Regions from separate parts of the Homo sapiens genome. Here all the other regions are linked to region 1. The links are contacts of gene promoters, found by promoter capture Hi-C in blood cells and fetal thymus (Javierre and others, 2016). All regions are on one chromosome and are shown on one strand. The core of a region is centred on a gene start or on the middle of the fragment in contact, and the rest is flanking DNA. Distances in the headings are between cores, read along the strand shown.

The links. The method cuts DNA at HindIII sites, captures the fragments that hold promoters and counts their contacts. A CHiCAGO score of 5 or more calls a contact.
Region 2: a fragment that was not itself captured here is called in contact with the fragment with the promoter of ACP6 in region 1 in 1 of 17 cell types (neutrophils); the score reaches 5.2 in neutrophils.
Region 3: a contact is called between a fragment that was not itself captured here and the fragment with the promoter of ACP6 in region 1, in 1 of 17 cell types (neutrophils). The highest score is 5.6, in neutrophils.
Region 4: a fragment that was not itself captured here is called in contact with the fragment with the promoter of ACP6 in region 1 in 5 of 17 cell types (fetal thymus, erythroblasts, naive CD4 T cells and 2 more); the score reaches 8.8 in fetal thymus.
Region 5: a fragment that was not itself captured here is called in contact with the fragment with the promoter of ACP6 in region 1 in 1 of 17 cell types (erythroblasts); the score reaches 6.5 in erythroblasts.
Region 6: a fragment that was not itself captured here is called in contact with the fragment with the promoter of ACP6 in region 1 in 1 of 17 cell types (fetal thymus); the score reaches 5.6 in fetal thymus.

What each region holds. Positions count from the first base shown.
Region 1 is chr1:147,668,838-147,672,940 of GRCh38, reverse strand. ACP6 (acid phosphatase 6, lysophosphatidic) reads left to right here and starts at 2,417. Exons shown (of 10, transcript NM_016361.5): 1 at 2,417-3,111. The coding sequence starts at 2,893. RefSeq lists enhancers at 1,955-2,024, 2,465-2,714, 3,355-3,414, 2,626-3,569. The HindIII fragment of the contact is 4,251 bases long and covers 1,944-4,103 here.
Region 2 is chr1:147,163,692-147,167,794 of GRCh38, reverse strand. It overlaps PRKAB2 (protein kinase AMP-activated non-catalytic subunit beta 2), which reads left to right. Exons shown (of 8, transcript NM_005399.5): 3 at 1-28; 4 at 856-949; 5 at 1,177-1,297. Among named protein-coding and RNA genes, the nearest start is that of PRKAB2, 6.7 kb to the left of the region's middle. The HindIII fragment of the contact is 7,359 bases long and covers 1-4,103 here.
Region 3 is chr1:147,254,580-147,258,682 of GRCh38, reverse strand. CHD1L (chromodomain helicase DNA binding protein 1 like) reads right to left here. Exons shown (of 23, transcript NM_004284.6): 3 at 3,707-3,813; 4 at 2,756-2,870; 5 at 2,121-2,152. Among named protein-coding and RNA genes, the nearest start is that of CHD1L, 14 kb to the right of the region's middle. The HindIII fragment of the contact is 5,587 bases long and covers 1-4,103 here.
Region 4 is chr1:147,270,584-147,274,686 of GRCh38, reverse strand. It overlaps CHD1L (chromodomain helicase DNA binding protein 1 like), which reads right to left. Exons shown (of 23, transcript NM_004284.6): 11 at 3,682-3,755; 12 at 2,406-2,516. Among named protein-coding and RNA genes, the nearest start is that of CHD1L, 30 kb to the right of the region's middle. The HindIII fragment of the contact is 676 bases long and covers 1,322-1,997 here.
Region 5 is chr1:147,302,756-147,306,858 of GRCh38, reverse strand. No RefSeq gene overlaps it. Among named protein-coding and RNA genes, the nearest start is that of CHD1L, 62 kb to the right of the region's middle. The HindIII fragment of the contact is 1,677 bases long and covers 1,137-2,813 here.
Region 6 is chr1:147,386,036-147,390,138 of GRCh38, reverse strand. The region is part of intron 3 of LINC00624 (long intergenic non-protein coding RNA 624); the gene reads left to right. Among named protein-coding and RNA genes, the nearest start is that of LINC00624, 130 kb to the left of the region's middle. The HindIII fragment of the contact is 8,136 bases long and covers 1-4,103 here.

The DNA of each region.
Region 1 (4,103 bases), core at 1,168-3,667:
TATTTTCCACCCTCACTCTGGTTTCTTTTGGAGATCTGCTGCTAAGTTGTTCCCCACACTTCCCCACACTCCCCCTCCAACAGGACACATGAGCCCTGACAGGACCATTGCTGTATTAGTCCGTTTTCACACTGCTATAAAGATACTACAATTTATAAACAAAGGAGTAAATTTACTCACAGTTCTGCATGGCTGAGGACAGGGGGAGGCCTCAGGAAACTTATAATCATGGCAGAAGGGGAAGCAGGCACCTTTTTCACAAGTTGGCAGACCAGAGAGGAGAAAGAAGGAGGAATTTCCAAAAACTTATAAAACCATCAGATCTCCTGTGTGGAGAGAGAGATCCTTCTTTCTCTTCTTATAAAGCCATCAATCCTACTGGATTAGGACCTCACATTTATATCTTCACTTAACCAAAATTGCTACTGGAAAGGGGTCCTGATCCAGACTCCAAGAGAGAGTTCTTGGACCTCGGGCAAGAAAGAATTTGGGGCGAGTCCATAAAGTGAAAGCAAGTTTATTAGAGAAAAAGAGAAACAAAAGAATGGCTACTCCATAGACAGAGCAGGGGCATGGGCTGCTCAACTGAAAATACTTATGGTTATTTCTTAATTATATGCCAAACAAGGGGTGGATTATTCATGAATTTTCTGGGAAAGGAGTGGGATTTCCTGGAACTGAGGGTTCCTCCCCACTTTAGGCCATATAGGGTAACTGCTGGCCCCGACATTCGTAAATTGTCATAGTGCTGATGGGAGTGTCTTTTAGCATGCTAATGCATTATAATTAACGTAAAATGAGCAGTGAGTTTGACCATAGGTCACTTCCATCAACATCTTGCATTTGGTTGGTGTTGGCCAGCTTCTTTACCACTTCCTGTTTTATCAGCAGGGTCTTTTTGACTGGTTTCTTGTGATACCAGTCCTGCTGACCTCCCCCCTCATCCTGTGACTGAGAATGCCTAACCTCCTGGGAATGCAGCCCAGTAGGTCTCAGCCTCATTTTACCCAGCCGCTATTCAAGATGGAGTCACTATGGTTCAAATGCCTCTGACAGAATCACCTTCTAAAAGTCCTATGTCCAAATGCAGTCACTTAGTGGGTACGAATTTGGCGGGGGACACAACTGAGTCCATAGCAAACAGTATTCGATTTTTAATCACATCAGCACACACAATAAGACTCTGAAAAGTGAGTCCCTTGGCTGGGCTAGGGAGAAAATTGTGACAATATGTAGTGTTCCAAAATGACCCTCCTCCCTGCATCAGGGAGGGGAGCACTCAGAACCTTCCAGCTTGGTGAACAGAATTTGTTCTCAGGCCAGGAGCCATGCTCTGTAAGTATGTTGTCTTTACATCTGGCCCAGTTTGATCTTTGGAGATAGACACATAGTGGGTCCCAGATTGTGTCCTGTTGCAAAGATCTGGAAACACAGGCTTGGGATACCTGTATATCAACAGAAACCAGACTAGCAGGTGGTAAGGCTGGCATTGTTCTGTGTTCTTAGGTTTTTTTTTGTTTTTTTTTTGTAGACGGAGTCTTGCGCTGTTGCCCAAGCTGGAGTCGTGTGGCGCGATCTCGGCTCACTGCAAGCTCCGCCTCCCGGGTTCACGCCATTCTCCTGCCTCAGCCTCCTGAGTAGCTGGGACTACAGGTGCCCGCCACCACGCCTGGCTAATTTTTTTTTTTTTTTTTTTTTGTATTTTTAGTAGAGACGTGGTTTCACCGTGTTAGCCAGGATGGTCTCGATCTCCTGACCTCATGATCTACCCGCCTCGGCCTCCCAAAGTGCTGGGATTACAGGCGTGAGCCATGGCGCCTCTTAGGTTCTTAATCACTGGGACACCCACAGGCAAGGCCTGGCTTTTTCCACAAGAAGTATTCTGGATGGAAGTAAACACATCAGTGACCTGAAAGTTCTACATGATTACAATGACTTAAGCTTGAGAATTTTTTTAAAAACAGAGAAGGGAGTAGTAAATGACTAAATATAAAGCACCTAGTGCTGTGTTTCGCAAATGGCAATCACTCGGCAGGTGTCTCAGCTCCTCGCTGCAGCAACCAGGCTTCCAGGACTGGAAGGAAGTCTTCTACATTCAAAACTAGACTCAAACTACTCCCCTCCACCACCCAGTTCTACTCCTGCGCTCGCGATCCTCCTGCCTGGCAAACTCCATGGCCCGACAGATTCACTACCACTCCACTGCCGGACCAGGCACGTCCGTGGGCCATCCACGCCTGGAAAACGGCTGGCTGGGCCGGAGGGGCGAGGCCCGCAGGCGAGGGGGGCGGGTACAAGCCACTTCTTGGGAGCCGCGGTACGCGCAGCCTTGTGGGAGTTGTAGTTTCCGCAGCTCTGAGTCTCCAGGCGAGGTGTCACCACAGGACTCGTTTTCCCGTGCTCCTGTGCGCGGGTCCACTTGGGACGGGTCCCTGAGTAGGTGAGGAGGTGGGTAGGAGCTTGCTTATAGAAAAGTGGAATCGAGTAGTCCTTGCTGGTGGAGCCGCTGCCGCCAGGGAACTCAGGGCCGGCTCCTGTTCCTTCAAGAGTGCTGGAGGCCAAACTTGAAATACAAGTTTAATGTTCCTCGTCGGGCAAAAGATAAGGATCCGATCTCCCCCGGCCCGGTGTGCAGCAGGAGCGACCAACCCCGACCCGGGTTAAAACTCCCAGGGACTCTTCGCTGCTGCCACCTCTTGTTCTCTCCCCCGTTCCCACTCGGGGTCTCCCTCAGGGCCGGGAGGCACAGCGGTCCCTGCTTGCTGAAGGGCTGGATGTACGCATCCGCAGGTTCCCGCGGACTTGGGGGCGCCCGCTGAGCCCCGGCGCCCGCAGAAGACTTGTGTTTGCCTCCTGCAGCCTCAACCCGGAGGGCAGCGAGGGCCTACCACCATGATCACTGGTGTGTTCAGCATGCGCTTGTGGACCCCAGTGGGCGTCCTGACCTCGCTGGCGTACTGCCTGCACCAGCGGCGGGTGGCCCTGGCCGAGCTGCAGGAGGCCGATGGCCAGTGTCCGGTCGACCGCAGCCTGCTGAAGTTGAAAATGGTGCAGGTCGTGTTTCGACACGGGGCTCGGAGTCCTCTCAAGCCGCTCCCGCTGGAGGAGCAGGTGAGAGGTCGGCCCGGGCTGGGGCTGGTGGGGCGAGGACCGTGTGCCAGGCCAGGAGTCTCGCCCTGACACACATCTTCAGAGCTTTACTCGCGCGGAGCGGGGCTCGGGTTGGGTCCAGAAGAAGGGAAAACAGCAGTAGCCAGTGACTCCCCAGGCTCTTGAGCAAAGGACCTGCTGGGGTTAGGACAGCCCCGGAACTTCCAGTTTTGCCCTGATGGCGCAGCCATCAGTAAGCGCTGCTTAAGACGCATGGGAGTCGCCTGGGGATCCTGCTACGTTGCAGATTCTGATTCAGCAGGTGTGGAGTAGTGCCCCAGGTCAGCATTTCTATTAAGGGTCTAGGTGAACTTGAATACAAGGGTGCAGTGCACTTCTGTGTGACCATTTTGAAGGTGGTTTGTCAGAGCTGAAGGGCTGAAGGGACTTTAGTGATAGGAACCACTCTTAACTGAGATTACAGTGGATAAGAGGTCGTTGCCTTTGGAAACAAACTTTATAACTGCTTTTTCTCAGGGTTTGCTGGAGGCCATTTGAGATCTCCTGAAGTTTTTTTTTGTAACAAGTGTTGTATTCTAGGGTTCTCCTTTTCTATTTAAGGTTACTAAACCTATAGTGGGAGGGATCTGAGGTCGGAACAAATTTAAAATGGGCTAGTCTGTGGCAGTAATGTTTTAAAAATCTGTCTGGTTTTGTCAGGATAATTATGACTAAAGCACAAATAGTTTAAAAAAAAATGATTATCTTTCCTGGATGTGACTTTTTATAGCAGAAAGGCCTAGTGAAGAGGAACAGGCAACCTGAAATCCCCAAACTCCCAGGTATTACACCTGTGGAGTGCTTTTGTATCGTTGGTCTTCCAGGTTGATGTTGGAGGAGGTCGAAAAGATTGTCCAAAATTGATGTTAGGTATACTCTTCATAATAACAGTTGCTTTCTAGAAACCTTCAGGATTGTGTCTTTACATTGTACAACTGGAAACCCATTTTTCA
Region 2 (4,103 bases), core at 730-3,229, 500 kb after region 1:
GGAGCACCAAGATTCCACTGATTAAGAGGTGACAAGTGTCTTGGTTGAATCTAAGGGTCCAGGAATAGAGACCTGATTTCTTTTCTCAGAAGAGAGACCCAGCTGGACTTTTCTCCACCTACTAAGGACTGTCTCTAGAACATGCCCTTTTCTGCGGCCACTTAGTATATCTGTGGGATTTTTTTTTAACCTCATAGTGAGTCAGAGATGTTTTACCCTTTAGAATTTCATTGCCTCAGAGGGATTCATAATAGCTTTATGGCTACATTCTTTAGGACTATGTCATACAAGTCCTGTCTATGCTTGTGGGAAGTCTTTTGTAACTGTCTGAGTCTTGTTGCTCTGACTTCTGCACTAAAGCAAAACACATTTTGAATTTTTAGGTAGTCATGTTATTTGTTGCTTCCAAAGCAATAATGAGTGATTTAACTGGTTGTCAGAATGGCCCTTTGTATGGTAGTTCATTCTCTAGAAAAGGTTCACCAAAACAGGGAAAGAGTACCTTGAGGCACTTCTGTATCCTAAACCTACCTATCTTATTTGCACTGGTGAGGAACTTGTTCTACTGAAGCAAAGTAAGTTATACTAAGGTGAACCATTTGAGGGGATTAATGTTTTTATTATTCTTTTCCAGATATTGGTTAAGAACTAACGTTGTTGGGAGGAGCTGGTAAATACATGTCCAAGATGATACAGAAAAGGAGAATGGGTTTATACGTTGTTTTTTACACCAGGGGATACAATGGCTTAGGAATCTGGGAAATTATTCATATGATACTATGATTGCCACTTGTTTTTTAGATTCAGTCTTCTAAAAGGAACTTGGCCTGTTTGCCTTTCTTTTTTCTTCTGTAGCCATAATGACTTTGTTGCCATCCTGGACCTCCCTGAGGGAGAGCACCAATACAAGTTCTTTGTGGATGGACAGTGGGTTCATGATCCATCAGAGGTAAGGCCTTGATCTCCAAGGGTAACCATTGACTTAGCAGTCTCATTTTAGCTGTCATTTCTGTCAAGACTGATGGGCAGCTGCTCCCCTACACTGGAGGATTTCTCTCTTGATAAAACGTGGAGGTGCTGAGAACAATCGTGTAAATTTTAGTAAAAGAGGAAGGTTGGATGGAAGAGATGGATTTGAAAGAGAGATTCAATAATTTTTTCTATTCACTGTTTCAGCCTGTGGTTACCAGTCAGCTTGGCACAATTAACAATTTGATCCATGTCAAGAAATCTGATTTTGAGGTGTTCGATGCTTTAAAGTTAGATTCTATGGAAAGTTCTGAGACATCTTGTAGAGGTAATTTTGTATTATTTACTCTCTCTTGCTGTGTCTTTCTTGTAGTTCCTTCCTAAAAGTTGTTTATGTGTGTATATACATATAGAGGGAGAGAGAGAGCAGGGGGTTGGGGGGAGGAGAGAGAGAGACAGAGATTTTTCTCCTGTAAACATTTAGGTCTCTTATTTGCAGCAAACACAAACACACACATTGTAACACAAGTCTCATGATACAATGTTTACCTTATTACATGGGATACACTCTATTTTCCATGTTATCTTTTATAATCACTAATGGGCTACAGCCTATAGTTTGAAAAGCTGTTTCTAGTAATATTTCAAGTTTTCCACTGACCTTTGATGATATTACCCAGCAGAGGCGATACATGTGTGTAGTTTGTTTGGTTTGCCCCATCTTAATCCTGCCAGTTTGAGACCTCAGTTAGCAGTTTCATGATTTTATGAGGTCCAAAAAATGTGGGGAAAAAAATGGTTTAAAAAACCAACAGCCTGGGCAATATGGCAAGACCCATCTCTACAAAAAATTTTTAAAAATTAGCCGAGCGTAATGGCACATGCCTGTGGTCCCAACAATTTGGGAGGCTGAGGCGTGAGGATTGCTTGAGCCCAGGAGGTCGAGGCTGCTGTGAAGCATGTTTGAGCCTCCTCACTCCAGCCTGGGCAGCAGAGTGAGATACTGCCTCAAAAACAAGACAACCACCCCCCTGCCCCCTGACAATTCTGTTGTAGGTAATTGAAATTTTGTAAATTTTTGGTTAAAAAAAAAAAAGTCTATGGTAGCGGAAAATATCTTTACACTTTTATTTCCTCTAATATTATTTGAGCCAAGGCCTTCATCTCTGCTTACAATTGCTATAGTATCAGAGAATATTTTGCTAACCACACTTGTAGTTACCATTTTGTTACTTTACAATAAGAACTATCTAAAGAATTGTGCACAGTATTCCCAGTGAGCACACTTCTCTCCTGTGAGTTCAAAGCCTGCCTCTGCTACTAACTAGTTTTGCCATCATGAACAAATCTCTCAACCTTTTTCGTTCTGAGTTTCTTCACAGTAAAACCAGGGACTTAAACTTTCAGTGATTCTCAGCTGAGGAGGCACAATACCTTAAGTGGAACATATTTGAATTTCAGGGGAGAAGGGTGGCTTTGCTGTTTTTAAAAGAAATTATTGGCTGGGCACACTGGCTCAGGCCTGTAATCCCAGCACTTTGGGAGACCGAGGCGGGTGGATGACGAGGTCAGGAGATCAAGACCATCCTGGCTAACACGGTGAAACCTCATCTCTACTAAAAAATACGAAAAATTAGCTGGGTGTGGTGGCAGGCGCCTGTAGTCCCAGCTACTCGGGAGGCTGAGGCAGGAGAATGACGTGAACCCGGGAGGCGGAGCTTGCAGTGAGCTGAGATCTCGCCACTGCACTCCAGCCTGGGCGACAGAGCGAGACTATTATTAATAGTGTAATCATCTGTTGAGGAAACTTTTGAAAATGTTGTTTTCATCATATAAGCTCAGAAGGTTAAATTGGGCATTATTTTTGACTGGTGGGACAGTAATTTAAAAGGGTTTTAAAATGCTGAATTAGATTATGAGGATACTTGTGACTAATTTTTGCATTATATAATTCTGGCAAAGTAACCAATAAATAGACATGTATCATAATTATATAGAGAGAAGACTTGCATACTTTTGATATTTCCCTTTCTCCTAATTTCCCAATCTATTGAGGTAACGCTTATAATCCATTTTTTACTAGGAATCTACAGATAATGGATTTTAGTCTGCACTCATTTACTGTCTATCCATGTATGTAACTTTAGGCAAATAACCAATTTGTATTTATTTTTTTCTGGTGAAAAGGCAATAAAAACTATTCTGTGCACTTCCCAAGGGTATTTTGTGGATCATGTGACGAAATAACAAAGCATAATACTTTGTAAGGTTTCAAGTTCCATATGTTTTAAAGATATTATTTAATATCAGAGTATTACTTCTGCTTTTTTCTTTTGCCTTATATGTATTTTTTATTTTTAATTGACACATAACAATTGTACATATTTATGAGATACAATGTGATGTTTCAATACATTTTATATGTGTAATGATCGAGTCAGGGCAATTAGCATATTCATCTCAAACATTTGTCGTTTCTTCGTGGTGATAACATTCAAAATCCTTTCTTCTAGCTATTTTATTTTGTTACATTATTGTTACCTATATTCACTCTACTGTGCAACGGAACACTGGAACTTAGTTCTTACAATGAATTTGGTGGCTCACACCTGTAATCCTAGCACTTTGGGAGGCCGAAGTGGGAGGATCACTTGAGTCCAGGAGTTTGAGACCAGCCTGGGCAACATAGTGAGACCCTGTCTCTACAAAAAAAATCAAAAAATTAGCTGGGCATGGTAGCATGTGCCTTTAGTACCAACTACTCTGAAGGCTGAGGTGGGAGGATCACTTGAGCCCAGGAGGTCAAGGCTGTAGTGAGCCGTGATCAAGCCACTGCACTCCAGACTCGGTGACACAGAGCAAGACCCTCTCTCAAAAAAGAAACAATAACATTTAAATAAAATATATTATAATATATTTCTCTTCATTTTTGTATATTGTATTCTTGTCTGCATACTTTTTTTCATTTTTTTGAGATGTAATTTATACATCATAAAATTAACTCTTAAATTGTACAACTCAGTAATTTTTAGTATATTCAGAGTTATGTGATTATCACAACTATCTAATTCCAGAGCATTTTTATCACCCGCAGAATAAACCCTGTACCCATTAGCAGTCACATCCCATTCCCT
Region 3 (4,103 bases), core at 412-2,911, 410 kb after region 1:
GAAACTCCAGAGGACAGGCAGAGGAACAGAGGTCCCTATGACATTACCATTCACCTACTGAGAGAAGCGAGTAGAGGGAGGACTGAGGGTCCAAAGAGAGTGCAGGAAGTCGAAGGAGAAGGTTGGGTGGCATGAGCAGAGGATGCATTTAAGGATGACAAGAAACAAAGGTCCAGTTGAAGTTGCACAGTGGTCATGAGATAAGGTATGGAAGTTTCTCTAGGATGGTGCCTGGCTCTGTCTGAATTAGCTTTCAAAACAGATTAGGTCCTATTCCCTTGTGAAGAACTAGACATTTAGGTGTCCAAAAAATGCTTGTTCAGTGAAACAGGCTACAGAGTGGTGGATTTTGGCTCATGAAAGGAAGTGGGTCAAATCACTTATCAAAGGATACTCTAAATGATGTCCCCTGAAGAGGAAAAGATGGGGGAAATCCAGCACTGAATGGAAAGTTGGATGAGGTAACTTCTAATCCTCTTGATCCAAAGAGTTTTACAAGTCTATTGTCCAAAACATTTCAAATTTTTCATATTTGTAACATGCACAGCCTTAACTCTCCATAATAAATCTCTTTAGGGCAGAGATGATATTACACTTCCCTGCTATTCTCAGAATGTACAATACAGCAATAAGCAATATAACCTTCCAAATATATTGAAAGAATGTATCTATGTTGTTGGGATTCATACTACAGGACAGCATTATAAATGTCCCTCTGTTACTTAGGTTTTTAAATCTACCTGAAAATGCACTGAAAACCGATTATCTGAAATAGAAAGATTCTATTTCTGCTGAATAATGTAAAACTCCAGTACAACTAGCTATTTTGAGAAGTTCTCTTAAAAAGAGGCTCCACAGCACCAAATGCTGGGTTTAAATGTCTGCTCTGCTATTTATCATCAGCAATGTAACCTTGGATGGGTTACCAAATCTCTTATTTTCCTCACCCGTAAAATGAATAATAGCTGCCTCGTGGGGTTTTCATGAAAATTAAATGGGATAATTTATGTAAAGTACCCAGCAACATTTATGTCCCAATTTTATTATCTTTTGAGACTTCCCATATATTGCTATGTATTATGGATATCTGTACACTTCTCATCCCTCCACTGGAGTTTGTCTTCTTAGGGAAGCTCTATGATTTACTTTCCTGATATTGCCAATAACTCTCAGAACAATGTCTTTCCAGTGACTGACTTTCAACAAATATTAAGTTGAATATTAATAATAAAAAGAGAGGGAATGTATATCTTAAGAAAAATAAGATAATATGCTCACTTAAATGAAATACTAGATAGAAGTCATGAAATCTATGACCTAGCCTCTAGTATTTCAAAATAACATGAAAATAGAAATCCAGCTCACAGGAACCTGGATAAGAAATAACATTTAAAATATTGATAAAATACTTTGAAAACAAAGATTTTTGAATATTAAAATACAGAATATCCACCTAACCATGTAATAACTACAGAGGTTATAGAGAATGAAACCCTGTCAACATATCTTTCTTACCTAAACTCTAGCCCTTATTTAATCTGCATTGTAACTGTTATCTTGACATGATCCTATCATTCCCATTATTAGGTGGTATTGCTGAGTTTCTGATTTCATGGGCCAATATGAGGTTAACTAATTAGAGGTACACTTAAAACTCCCTTTCTAAAAAGTTAATTCCACGGCACTGATTGCTATTTTAGGTTATGTCCAGCAAACAGCTCAAATGGTTCTCCTTCTGTATTACAGCAAACTCTCCAAATGGTAGTACTGAAAGGGGTCTATGCAAGTTGCATGTAAAGAGCCTAATATCTATTAACCATACAAAGTATATTTAATCTCATTTAATTTTCGTAACAGCTATTTGAGGTAAGAAACAATTATCCTCATTTTACAGATGAAGAAGCTGAAGTTCATGGAGATTAAATAACTAACCCAAGGACACACAGCTAATGAGTAGAGGACTGTAAACACAGGACTCCCACCATGCCGCCTACCCATAAACAGAACTCATGGAAGACATACCAGACATGCCAGGAGAGGCAAAGTACTAAAACGTGAAGGAAAGACATGACATTCATAATACATTCAACCCAAGTTCTTAAATAGTACAACCTACTCACGATTTTAGAAATGATGCATCTTTCAAGCAAATCTGAAAAATTAGGAAGACACGTTATAAAGGCTGGCATTGATAAACTCTGATATTGATAAGCTAGTTTTCTGTGAACTCTCTTAAACTATAGGATTTATCTAAGTCTCATTTGTTCACTAAGTAAAAAAAAGTTCTGAGAATAATTTCTAAGTAGCGCCATCTTAAAAACAAAGAGAAAAGCCTGATTAAGTGGAAGGTCAGTGGCACACACTGTCTTAGACTGAAAAACAAGGATTTAAAATAAGGCCGGAGCTGTCTTCCATTCCTATCCTCCAGTAACAGACGTGATTCCTCAGTCCACAAAACCCTTTCCCCTGCCTGCCTGCCTGACTTCTGTTCATCAACCAAGAGGCAGCTCAAGTGCCACTTCCTTGAGAAGCCTTCCCCCTTGATCCACCAAGAAAGGAAAAGATCGAACTAATCTGAAGCACAATGATCCTTCACTTCTTTTGGTTACAGCCCTCTTTTGAGAATCTGATGAAGGTAGACTCCCTGCCCAGAAAAGTGTGTGCTCTCAACAAAACTTAAATATAATTTCAGCAGACTCTACAACTTCTAAGGTCACAGGTTAGGAGTTCTCGCTATAGAGAAACGAATGAATACCTCATAGGTAGTCAGTAGCACATGAAAACGTGACTCCTGTTTCAGGTCTTGCTGAAGGCAGGCTCTTTCCTCCTTGTCGCCTGCATATGTTACACAGGAAAGACCTGGAGCAAATCTGAATCCAAGAAAAGAAGTAGATAAACATAAATACTAGATCCATGTGACAGGATGTGCATATCTGGAAAATTACATTTCATGGGAGGATTGCAATGTACAGAACTCATGAGGTCCTACAACCAGAGTCTTGGGGCTCTGAATCTTATCTAAAAAAATGGTTGAACCTCAGAGCGAGTTCCTATGTGAACAGGTAGAGGGATCAGATCTAAAAAGGTCTTGTGCTGACTCTAAAAATAAAACGATCTCTTCCACATGAGTTACTTCCTACGTCACTATGAAAAATAGGCCGGGCGCGGTGGCTCACACCTGTAATCCCAGCACTTTGGGAAGCTAAGGCGGGCAGATCACATGAGGTCGGGAGTTTGAGACCAGCCTGACCAACATGGAGAAACCCGGTCTCTACTAAAAATACAAAATTAGCCAGGTGTGGTGACGCACGCCTGTAATCTCAGCTACTTGGGAGGCTGAGGCAGGAGAATCACTTGAACCTGGGAGGCAGAAGTTGTGGTGAGCCAAGATCGTGCCATTGCACTTCAGCCTGGGCAACAAGAGCAAAACTCTGTCTCAAAACAAACAAACAAAAAACAATGGCTTCTACTAAGTTCATCAATACTTACTACAAACGATTGCTGACCTTTAAATTGCCAAATAGTAATAATATTACTCTTCCCCTATTATATCCTCAGTGTCTACCTACACTCTATCAGCTCAAAGTTTTCTGGAATAAACTTACTAATTACGACAATAGGTTGTTTTATCATATTTTATACATCATCCAGAAAAAAAATCTTAATCAAGATAAACAATAAAATTTCAGCTACATCTACTCTGTACCTCTGCATTTCTTCTTTCCAGTTGCTCAAAACAGACAAGGGACAAAGAATCAGAAATGGCCCTTCATCATTTAATCTTCCTGCCAAATAAATGAAGAGAGCAATAGTCTGGAACACAGAAAAAGAAAGGCAGTTTTGATCACATTTCCCCATGAGAAACAACCATGAAGTTCCCACAACCCTGTAGGGAACACACACTCTTGTTTAAGACTTGTTTTACAAAGAAATATTGTACGAACTTCCGCATATCAGGGGAGTAATCCATTCGTAGAGCGAAATCATGTAAGCCTCAATATACTTGCACGGAAATTTATGGAACTCAATTACTTCAGTAGTTAACAAGCAATGAGGCTCAATGTTTAGGTAATTGAACCTCTACTGTAAAGAAAAAGTCAGGA
Region 4 (4,103 bases), core at 410-2,909, 400 kb after region 1:
TGGTCTTTCTTCAGTGCTGCAGGAAGAGAGCTGAGGAGGTACCTTGAGTTACAGGAATTAATTAAGAGAACCGTGAAGGTACATTGCAGCCTTCTCTTTGATTAATGTGAAAACAAGTACAAAACAGACTCCCTCTTGCCAGGGTCGTTAGAGCTGGTTGCTGAAACAAGCAAGCCTGAAAGGGCTTGTTCCATAAACCTGAATTAAGGACTAACTTTTAAGAAGGACTACTGACCATAAGCTGGATCTCCAGACAAATCAGGCAGGAATATTCTAATTAAAGTCTTCGTATCAAGTTGAAGTTGGAACAAGGAGGTAATCATGACCGATTACTGAGAGATGCTAAATTATACCTAATAATAATGATAATGACACTTACGCTGTGCTTACTACTTGCCAGGCATTATTCTAAGCACTCTCTCTATATTAACTCCTTTAACCCTCACAACAACCCTGTCGGGAAGTTGAGTAGTTGCTACGATTTTCCCCACTTTATAGATGTTGAAAGGGAGGGTAAGGGACTTCTCTGAAGTTGCAAGCCTAGAAGGTGAAAGAGCCAGGATTCATTCCCTTGCAGTCTTGGTCCAGAGCCCGTGCTTTTATCCACTATACTATAATACTTTTCAGGTGCTTATTTCATTTTAAAATGTGTTCCATAAAATTATCTTCTTGAATTCATGTTGTCTAAGTGCAGCTCTTCACCGAGGGGTGAGATTTTTATAAATAAGCCACACCCACATCCATGAATAGGAACATATTCATGAGCTATCACTGCCATCTGGTGGCAACATGACTCATCACAGAAATATTTGAAATTTGGAAGGAAACCTGTTAAATAAATGAAAATACTGCAAAACTACAACAAAACTGTGACAGCAAACACAACAGTGTTTGGAGAAGACTAATGTCCAGGACTGCTTCAGCTCCCAGATCTACTCTGAGTCCTCCAAGGAGATTAACTGAAAAGCAGAGATCTCTTTTTTCCTAATTTTAGACATTTCAAACATAATGCTGCTCTCTGAATATGAGGATGATGAAATCATTAAAGCATAAATAAAACTGTTTTCCCGGCAGTGATGATGCACTGCCTGATTCTTTCAGTTTCTCCTGAGACTAACCCTGAGGCAACTGATCACATGAGAAAATGGCTGAGACTCCATGTGCAGTCTATGATCTTGGAAGAGTGAGGCCAAATGAATCTTATGTTATTAATTTTATTAGGGAGATAAAACAAACACAGGTGAAATAATCTCCTTATAATCAAAAATTATATCTAACACTTCTTTCATATACCCTTATAGCAGCAGGCATTTAGAAAGCTTTCTAAATAAGACTGAACTCTCTTTTTAGAAAAATGTCAATCTGTCTTTAATAGAGGACACACATCTCTTTCATGTTCCTGCATGTACTCCATCAAGATTTATGTCTACAAAAATAAGATAATGAAACTAGGATCCTATGAGTTGAAAACTAAGGTCAGCTTGCTCCAGGACCTGAGAAAAATTTCTTAGGCTGGAATGTAGTGGTGCAATCTTGGCTCACTGCAACCTCCGCCTCCTGGATTCCAGCGGTTCTCCTGCCTCAGCCTCCGTAGTAGTTGGGATTACAGGCACGCACCACTACATCCAGCTAAGTTTTGTATTTTTTTAAGTAGAGACGGGGTTTCACCATGTTGGCCAGGCTGGTCTCAAACTCCTCACCTCCAGTGATCCACCCACCTCAGCCTCCCAAAGTGCTGGGATTACAGGCATGGGCCACCGTGCCGGCCTTTTTTTTTTTTTTTCCAGACACCACAATGACTTAGAGAATCATTTCATCTCCAAGAGCTGATTTCAAATTATGTAACAGTAAATGAAAGCACTCTGTAACTGGTAAAGCATTACAAATGTCGTAATATTCACGATTTAAATCATATATGGATGATGTCATAAATAATTCTAAAAAGTTGGTATTTTCAACATAATCACATTTTTTAACAACTAGATTTTTGTTAAGCTTTTCAGCACTATTCCAGAAATACTTATAGAGGAAGGACAACTAGTAGACAAACTGTTACCTTATTTCCCAAATTCACGGTTGGGAAGAAGAGCTACTTCCACTGAATGTAAATGAAACATTCCACAAAATCACATAAATCTTTCAGGACATTCCCAGGTCAATGGTCAAAGCAGATTAGAATTACTTTCCAATAACCCCAGGTTTCAGCCTTACTTCTTTGCTGAGATGACAGTTTGGACAGGCTGGATAGAAAACAGCACCATGCTTGATGTCCAGTACCTTGTTTTACATTCAATAGTAACCTCACCTTTCAGAGAATTAAGGAAAAAAGTGTACTAACCGTTGGGATGTAATAGTACTCTATTATCCCTCATTTGTCTGTTTCCATCAATGCCTTTGCAGCCTACCTGCCCTAGTACTCAGGAGAAAAACGAAAATGGGCTGCTGTCCAAAGTTCTTAATGGCCAAGTGTCTCTCTTCTCCTCTCACAGAACCATCCACACGCTCATAGCTGTAGCCTTTACAGAGAGGAAGAAAAACAGAAATCTTAACCCTTTTCAAGTAGTCTTTGGGGAATAAAAAATTAAGCCCAAAACCAAAGGCCAATTTTGTCCCTTTCCATATACAGGCACAGCCCTACTTTAAGCAAATCCCAAAGGGAAAAATTTAAATTAACAGGGACAATTATCATTTTACAAAATAACTCACCATAACATACTCCTCTGGATTTTTTAAATACATGCAGTTGAAGTCTTTGGCACTTATGAAGTTAATACTCAGTTTTGACTATTCTCAAGCAACCCTGAGCATCTATCCTGTGTGATAGTTTCAACTTTGCTGAGATGTAATTCTTATGTAAACAGAAGACAAGCGCTTGGAGGCAGGTGAGTGAGCCCCTTCTAACAGTCCAGCAATCTGCCTTTCAGTGAGGCTTTAGAGTTCGCCACCTGCCTCCATGCATCCGTGTGGGGAAGGGGAGCTACAGGATCAGGCTGTTTATGCATCTGGGGACCCCTCAATGGCCAGTGGCATGTGCCAACGGCATTCTGCAAGTGTCCACTGGACCAGGTATACTGCGGAACTCAGACACCCGGTCTGAACTACTTTTTTAAATTGTAAGGTCTGGAGCTGTTCAACATTGGGCTCAAGATCAACTCATGTTAGAGCCTTTTCTCATCATCTCACACAAATCTTATTACATATTAAACAGACTTCCCAGGTAATAACCTACATTCTTTATTGTCTATGCAGAAAAAGTTGCTCTTACTTTTCCCCTGGCTTATTTGTTATCTCTATAATTTCAATATTCACCTTTTCACTGATCATGAGTAAGTGCTCAACTGTTGAGGTGAATGTTACAAGACGCTAAAAGCTCTAGTCACTGAAACTTTATCACACATTTTCAAAAACATTTCCACAACATTTGCTCCACGGCCCATAATTTTAAATCATGTAACTGATGGGAACGTGGGTGTTTATTTCTGCCCACGTGCCTGTTCTCTGCTGTCCATCCTTGCCTTCACACATCACTCTCCTCTCGCCTTTTGATTTTTTGGTTCTGAATAATGTTCTCACCCTGCTTTCCTTTGTAATATTCTCATATCCCATATTATTCTTCATGGACCTATCTGGACTGTTAAGTCTAACAGAGCCTTAGGTAATGTAGTGGCCAAAAGGTGTCACCTCTGTAATCCATATAGTCTTGGAGAATATCCAACATCTGGGTCATTTGGGAGAAAAGTAAAACCCGATGGCCCCTGGCAAGAAAAAGAAAAGGAAACACTGCCAAGTCTAGTGGTATTTAAGGTCAATTTCCCTCAGGCAAAATTTACCAAACAATAAAAGTTTATAAATAAATACCAAAGTAGAAATATAAGTGTCGTATGATTTATAGACTGCCTCAGAACCTCCAAATGCTTTCTATGAGAATACACCTCCACAGGTAGCTGTATCCCTCAGAGCAGTCATCCTCAAACTAGAGTGGAGATTATTCCCAGGAGACGTGTCAATGCAACAGGGGATATAAGCCCTAGAATAAACAAGGTGCCTCTTTCTGGAATGTCAATTTGCTCAATGGAAAGAAATATAAGCTTTCATTTTAGTAG
Region 5 (4,103 bases), core at 726-3,225, 370 kb after region 1:
CCTAATTGAATACCCTTTATTTCCCTCTCCTGCCTAATTGCCCTGGCCAGAACTTCCAACACTATGTTGAATGGGAGTGGTGAGAGAGGGCATCCCTGTCTTGTGCCAGTTTTCAAAGGGAATGCTTCCAGTTTTTGCCCATTCAGTATGATATTGGCTGTGGGTTTGTCATAGATAGCTCTTATTATTTTGAGATACGTCCCATCAATACCTAATTTATTGAGTTTTTAGCATGAAGCGTTGTTGAATTTTGTCAAAGGCCTTTTCTGCATCTATTGAGATAATCATGTGGTTTTTGTCTTTGGCTCTGTTTATATGCTGGATTACTTTTACTGATTTGCATATGTTGAACCAGCCTTGCATCCCAGGGATGAAGCCCACTTGATCATGGTGGATAAGCTTTTTGATGTGCTGCTGGATTTGGTTTGCCAGTATTTTATTGAGGATTTTTGCACCAATGTTCATCAAGGATATTGGTCTAAAATTCTCTTTTTTGGTTGTGTCTGTGCCAGGCTTTGGTATCAGGATGATGCTGGCCTCATAAAATGAGTTAGGGAGGATTCCCTCTTTTTCTATTGATTGGAATAGTTTCAGAAGGAATGGTACCAGCTCCTTCTTGTACCTCTGGTAGAATTCGGCTGTGAATCCATCTGGTCCTGGACTTAAAGTCTGTTTTATCAGAGACTAGGATTGCAAACCCTGCTTCTTTTGCTTTCCATTTGCTTGGTAAATATTCCTTCATCCCTTTATTTTGAGCCCATGTGTGTCTTTGCATATGAAATGGGTCTCCTGAATACAGCACACCGATGGGTCTTGACTCTATCCAATTTGCCAGTCTGCGTCTTTCAATTGGGGCATTTAGCCCATTTACGTTTATTGTTAATATTGTTATGTGTGAATCTGATCCTGTTGTCATGATGTTAGCTGGTTATTTTGCACATTAGTTGATGCAGTTTCTTCATAGTGTTATTGGTCTTTATATTTTGGCATGTTTTTGCAGTAGCTGGTACTGATTTTTTCCTTTCCATATTTAGTGCTTCCTTCAGGAATTCCTGTAAGGCAGGACTGGTGGTGACAAAATCCCTCAGCATTTGCTTGTCTGGAAAGGATTTTATTTCTCCTTCACTGATCAAGCTTAGTTTGTCTCGATATAAAATTCTGGGTTGAAAGTTATTTTCTTTAAGAATGTTGAATATTGGCCCCCACTCTCTTCTGGCTTGTGGCGTTTCCGCAGAGAGATCCACTGTTAAGTCTGATGGGCTTCCCTTTATGGGTAACCTGACCTTTCTCTCTGGCTGCCCTTAACATTATTTCCTTCATTTCAGTCTTGGTGAATCTCACAATTATGTGTCTTGGGGTTGCTCTTCTCAAGGAGTATCTTAGTGGTGTTGTCTGTATTTCCTGAATTTGAATGTTGCCCTGTCTCACTAATTTGGGGAAGTTCTCCTGGATAATATCCTGAAGTGTGTTTTCCAACTTGGTTCCATTCTCCATCACTTTCAGGTACACCAATCAATCGTAGGTTTGGTCTTTTCACATAGTCTCATATGTCTTGGGAGGCTTTGTTCATTCCTTTTCATTTTTTCTCTAATCTTGTTTTCACGCTTTATTTCACTAAGTTGATCTTCAATCTCTGATATCCTTTCTTCCGCTTGACCAATTTGGCTACTGATACTTGTGTATGCTTCATGAAATTCTCATGCTGTGTTTTTCAGTTTCATTGGGTCATTCATGTTCTTTTCTAAACCGGTTATTCTCGTTAGCATTTCCTATAACCTTTTATCAAGGTTTCTTAGCTTCCTTGCATTGGGTTAGAACATGCTCCTTTAGCTCAGAGGAGTGTTATTACCCACCTTCTGAAGCCTACTTCTGTCAATTCATCAAACTCATTCTCCATCCAGTTTTGGTCCCTTGCTGGTGAGGAGTTGTGATCCTTTCAAAGAGAAGAGGCATTGTGGTTTTTGGAATTTTCAGCATTTCTGCACTGGTTTTTCCTTATCTTCATGGATTTATGTACCTTTGATGTTTGATGCTGAGGACCTTTGGATGGGGTTTTTGCATGGACATCCTTTTTGTTGATGTTGATATTATTGCTTTCTATTAGTTTTCCTTCTAACAGTCAGGCCCCTCTTCTGCAGGTCTGCTGGAGTTTGCTGGAGGTCCACTCCAGACCCTGTTTGCCTGGGTCTGCAGAGCCTGCAGAGCCTGCAGAACAGCAAATATTGCTACCTGTTTCTTTCTCTCAAAGCTTCATCCCAGAGAGGCACAAGCCTTACTATGAATACTGCTGTAATAAACAAGTGAATGCAGGTTTTCCTTTGATATATTGCTTCATTTTCCTTTAGTAGATACCTAGTGGTGGGACTGCTAGATTAAATGGTAATTCTATTTGAGTTTTTTGAGAAATCTCCATGCTGTTTTCCATAGTGGTTGTACTAGTTTACATTCCCACCCACAGTGAATAAGAGTTCCCTTTTCTCTGCATTCTTGCCAGCATTTTTTTTTGTCTTTTTAATGGTAGCCATTCTGACTAGGGTAAGATATTATCTCATTGTGGTTTTGATTTGCATTTACCTGATGATTAGTGGTGTTAAGCATTTTTCTTTTACCTCTTGGCCATTTGTATGTCTTCTTTTGAGAGTTGTCTATTATGTCCTTTGTCCACTTTTTTATTCTTTTGTTGTTAACTGTTGAGTTGTTTGAGTTCCTTGTGTATTCTGGATATTAGTCACCTGTCAAATGAATGGCTTGCAAATATTTTCTCCCATTTAATAGGTTGTCTCTTCACTCATTTATTCTGCTGTAGAGAAGCTTTTTAGTTTAATTAAGTCCCATTTTTCTGTTTTTGGTTTTGTTCCCTGTGCTTTTGAGGTCTTAAGTCATACATTCTTTGCCTAGAACAATATCCAAGAGAGTTTTCCCTAGATTTGCTTCTAGTATTTTTATAGTTTTGGGTCTTATATTTAAAGTCTTTAATGCACTTTGAATTTACTTGGTGTATGGTGAGAGGTAAGGGGTCCAGTTTCATTCTTCTGCATGTGGCCATCCAATTTTCCCAGCACTATTTGTTGAAGATAGTCTTTTTTCCCCAGTGTAAGATCTTGTTGGCTTTGTTGAAGATCAGCTGGCTGCAAATACATGGCTTTATTTCTGGATCCTCTATTCTGTTCCATTGGTCTATGTGTTTATTTTTATACTAATACCATGATGTTTTGGTTACTATAGCTTTGTAACATATTTTGAAGTCAGGTTATGTGATGTCTCCAGTTTTGTTCTTTTTGCTCAGGATTGCTGGAAAATTACTTTGAAACAAATTTTATATTTAGCCGAGAATTTATTCAAATGTGTGTGAATAATAAAAAGATTCTGAGCTACACTAAGTTCCTAAAGTGGGGTGAAGGAGTGAGACATGTTAGCAAGGTAGTAAAGTGGTCCAGGCCAACATCTGCTGGTTCTATTTCTCTTATTTAAACAGTTCCTCCAAAAATGTTTTTAAAATGAATCCTTTGTGGCAAAACCGCTGAGATGTTTGGAGATGTCATTATATGTCTAGGTATGGGTTCTCACCTCTTCTACTTAGTACTCTCTGAACACTGAATTTGAAGTAGTTTATCTTTCTTTAATGAGAAATTTGTCTCCAATATTTATTCTAATAATTTTTCATCTCCATTTTAATCTTTCTGTCCTGTATAATGCTATTATCCAGATGTTGTCATGTCTGCTATCCTCCTATATATGCATTTTTTCCATTTTCCTTTTCAAATTTGTTTGACATATAAAATCGTATTTATCATGTACAACATGATGTTCTTTATATATACATTGCAGAATGGTTAAATCTAGCTAATTAACATATGCATTATCTGATATATTTGTGAGAACACAACATCCATTCTAAATATTTTTCAATACATCGTTAATGTCATCTTACTGTACATTAGCAAGATAATGCTGTACATTAGATGTCTTGAACTTATTTCTCCTAATTGTAAATATGTACTCATTGCCAACATCTCCCCAACTCCCCAAGCCCACTAACCACCCAACCCTCTGGTAACCACCATTCTAGTCTCTACTTCTGAGATCAACTTCTTAGATTCCAC
Region 6 (4,103 bases), core at 730-3,229, 280 kb after region 1:
ATGTCATGATCCAGTAGATGGCACTTAAGAGTAAGAGCCAGCAGATATGCTGTTAGCTATGTGCATTAGCAGCAGTGCTTAGGGGAAGAGGGAGAGGGGAGGGCAAGAGATGTCTCCCTCGTGGTATCTGCTCCTGGGCCTTGAGGGACCCCCCTCCAATCACTAGCACTGTGTCTATGTTCCTTAGTTCCAGTGGGGGTCCTGGTGGCCTGCACTCCCACCTCCGTTAGGGGCAGTCAGATCCACAGGTTGGGTCAACAAGAGACCCACCACTCCAGGGAACCTGCTGATTCTCTGTGTTTGGCAGAGCCAGAGAGGGTTGTGGGCTATGTCTGCGTTGGCCTGGTGATGCAGTGGATCATGGGCGGAGGATCCCTGGGCAGGGTGGTAGTGCCACGAGTGTGCAGCTGGTGTGGCGTCCACGGCCTGGGTTTTTTATTTTTGCCCAGGAGATGGCTATGGGGTCTACTGAGCTTGCAGTCCCCCAACTGAGCCTCCCTCAGATGTTTGCCCCAGGAGGAGGCCTGACCAGCTAGATTTGTCTCAAGCATTCTGCATCCAGATCGCTGGGTTGTTCCAGGTGTTCCAAGCCTTGGGGCCCTCTTGGGCAGAAGCTGCAGCTGGTCAACAGGCTAGGCTCTTCCCAGGCCAGCTTTGCATAGGAAGAGATGCTCAAGTCCCACGCCAGCACATGCCCACAAACTCACGCCTCACTCTTCTCAGTGTTCTGAGAGTGGAGGCTTTTCCCTTGCTTGAGGTCAGGTCACAGATCTCAGCTTGATGCCCCTGGGCAGTGTGCACAATCCCTGGGGGTTGGGGACCAGGCCCATGGCTTTGCCCTCTGGCCTCTTGGGGTTGAGCACTGGCTGTGTTCCGGGGAGCCAAACTGCTGCCAGGCGATTGGCAAAAATACTCAGGTGGAGCAGTGGAGGCTGGAGGCTGTGCTCTGTGCTCCCTGTTGCAGGAGCAGCCAGGCATGTGGCCTTGGGAGGAGCTGGTGTACAAGGGCCATGTGTATCAGATGTGCCCCTGTCCCACGGGAAAGGTAGCTCTGCTCTCTCCCAGCCCGGCAGTCAGCAGGGGCTAGAGCCACACAGAACAAAATGGAGAGCCTTGGGGAATGGGAGCCTATGCTCACATTTTTGCTGTAGCTCTGGACTCCATGCAGGTTCCAGTTCTGCTTCAAGGCAGTTTCCTCTATCAGTTCAAATGCCTGTGGGGGTCATGGGATCTCTTGTAGTCTGGATCCCAGAGGTGTGTGGCGGGAGTGTGGTGCCTGGGAGTTCCTTCACTCACTGCTTCCCTAGGACCTGCTCAGGATCAGGAGCTGGTCTTGTCACTCTGAGTGACTCCATGCAGGCGCCTAGCTTCCTCCTTCTTCACCCTCAGTGTCTCTGTCACCTCTCTATCAACTTTTTGTGTTTTCTCTCAAATGATCTGTTTGAACTATGATGTTTTACTTGAAATCCTGGATTCTCTTTGTGGGAGAGGCATTTCCTGGCTGTGTCTAGTCAGCCATTTTGTCCCTTTCCATGAAAGTATTTAAATAATACAAAGTATGTTCCCCAGCCACAATGGAATTAAATTAGAAACCAACAACAAAATGAAATTTGGAAACTCCACAAATATTTGGAAATTAAGCAATATATTTCTGAATGAATTATATTATGAATGAATCAGGAGAAATTACCAAAAATTTAGAAAGTATTTTAAATTGTATCACTATGAAAACCACACATATTACAATTTATGGGATGCAGCTAAAGCAACACAGAGAAAAATTCATATGACTTTAAATGCCTATATTAGAAAAGAAAAAGAATATTTCAAATTAAATGAAAAGCATCATAAGGGAATATTATGAGGAACTTTATGCCAACAAATTAGACAACTTAGGTGAAATAGTCAAATTCTTAAAAAACCCCATAAACTACCAAAACTAACTCAAGAAGAAATGAAACATCTGAATAGATCCAAAATCTGTAAAGAAATTTGTAGTTAAAACCTTCTCACAAATACAAACTCAGACTTACATGACTTTGCAAGTGAATTCCATCAAACACTTAACAAAGACATAAGACTGCTGCTCCACAAGCTCTTCCAGGAAATAGAGGCAGAAGGAACAGTTTCCAACTCATTCTATGAGGCCATATTATCCTCATACCAAAGTAAGATAAGCATATTACAAGAAAAGAAAACTATAGACCAACATCTCTTCTGAATATAAATGGAAATATTAGAAAATGAAATCTAAGAATATGAAAAAGAATTATACACCATGACTAGGTAAGATGCATCCCAGGAGTGCAACGCTGTTTAACATCCAAAAAACAATTAATGAAATACATCATATTAAAATAATATAGGACAAAAACCACATGATAATTTCAATATATGCAGAAAAATATTTGACAAAATTCAATACCTATTTATGATTTTAAAAAATCTCAAAAGACTTGGAATAAAAGATAGCTTTCTCAGTCTGGTGAAAGCCATCTACAAAAAAACCTATGGCAAACATCAGTCTTAATGATAAAAGGCTGAAGACTTTCCATCTAAGATTGGGTAAAAGGCAAGGATGTTCACTCTAACCTCTTCGATTCATTCTAACCTCTATGGGAGGTTGTAGCCCATGCAAAAAGAAAATAAAAGGAAAGAAAAGACATATGGATCAAAAGGAAAAAAAAAACAATTATACCTATGTGCAGATGACACAGTGGTCCATGTAGAAAACCCTAGGGAGTCTACGCAAGAAACAACAATAACAACAAAACAAATCCTAGAATTAATAAGGGAATTTAGCAAGGTCACAAGATATGTGATCAATATACAAAAATCAGTTGTATTTCTGTCTACCTGCTATAAACAATCTGAAAAGGGAATTATGAATTTATAAAAGCATTAAAAAGAATACCACATGTAGGAATACATTTAATAGACGGTATGCAAGTCTTGTACATGGAAAGTTTCAAAACATTGTAGAGTCAGCATCATGCAATATACCTTCGTATAATAACAAACCTGCACATGTACTTCCTGATTCTAAAATAAAAGTTGAAAAAAGAAAAAAAAAGACCTTGTAGAGATAATTTTTTAACTCTAAGTAAATGTACAAACTTTCAATGTTTTTGGATTGGAAAACTCAATATTGTTTAAGATGGCAATTTTTTCCAAATTGATCTATGGGTTTGGTGCCATTCAAAATTCCAGTAGATTTTGTGTGGAGACAAACAAGCAGATTCTAAAAATTCTGTGAAAACTCAAAAGACTCAGAATAGCAGAAACTATTTTAAAAAAACAAAGCTGGGAATTTGTTCATGTATAGGAAGACTCCATATTAACATGTTACTTATCTCCAAATTGTTCTATAGATTCTATATAATACCATTCAAAATAATAGCAGGGTTTTTCTCTTTTTTTAAAAAAAGATGACAATTTGATACTAAAATTTATGTGGAAATTTGAAAAACCTAGAATAGCTAATGAAATTTCTGTGTACTACATAGTCTTGTAATCAATCATAGACCTAAATATAAAATCTAAAACTATTAAAGTTCTACAAAAATATAGGAGAAATTTTAATGACATTGGTGAGGCAAAGATTTCATAGATAAGACACTAAAAGCATGAGATAGAAAATACTCATATATTTGCCATCATCAAAATTTAAAAACTTTTGCTCTTCAAGAAGATACTCTAATGGAAGTGAAAAGCAAAGCCACAGATTGGGAGAAAATATCTGCTAACAGATATCCAAAAAAGGACTTGTATCTAGTACAAAAAAATGTACAGTTCAACTATAAGACAAACAACCAAATTTAAAAATAGTTAAATTTGAACAGACATTTCACCAAAGAAGATGTATAAGTAGCAAATAAGTATATGAAATATGCTCAACATCATTATTCATTAGGGTCACACAAATTAAAATAAGATACCAGTAAACTTCCTCTAGAATGGCTAAAATTTAAAGGGCCAAACCAAGTGTTGCCAAAGATATGGAACAACTGAAACTTTCATATGTTGTTATTAGGAATGTAAAATAACAAATCTCTTTAGAAAACAGTTTGGCGGCAGCTTAAAAAGTTAAACACATACCTACC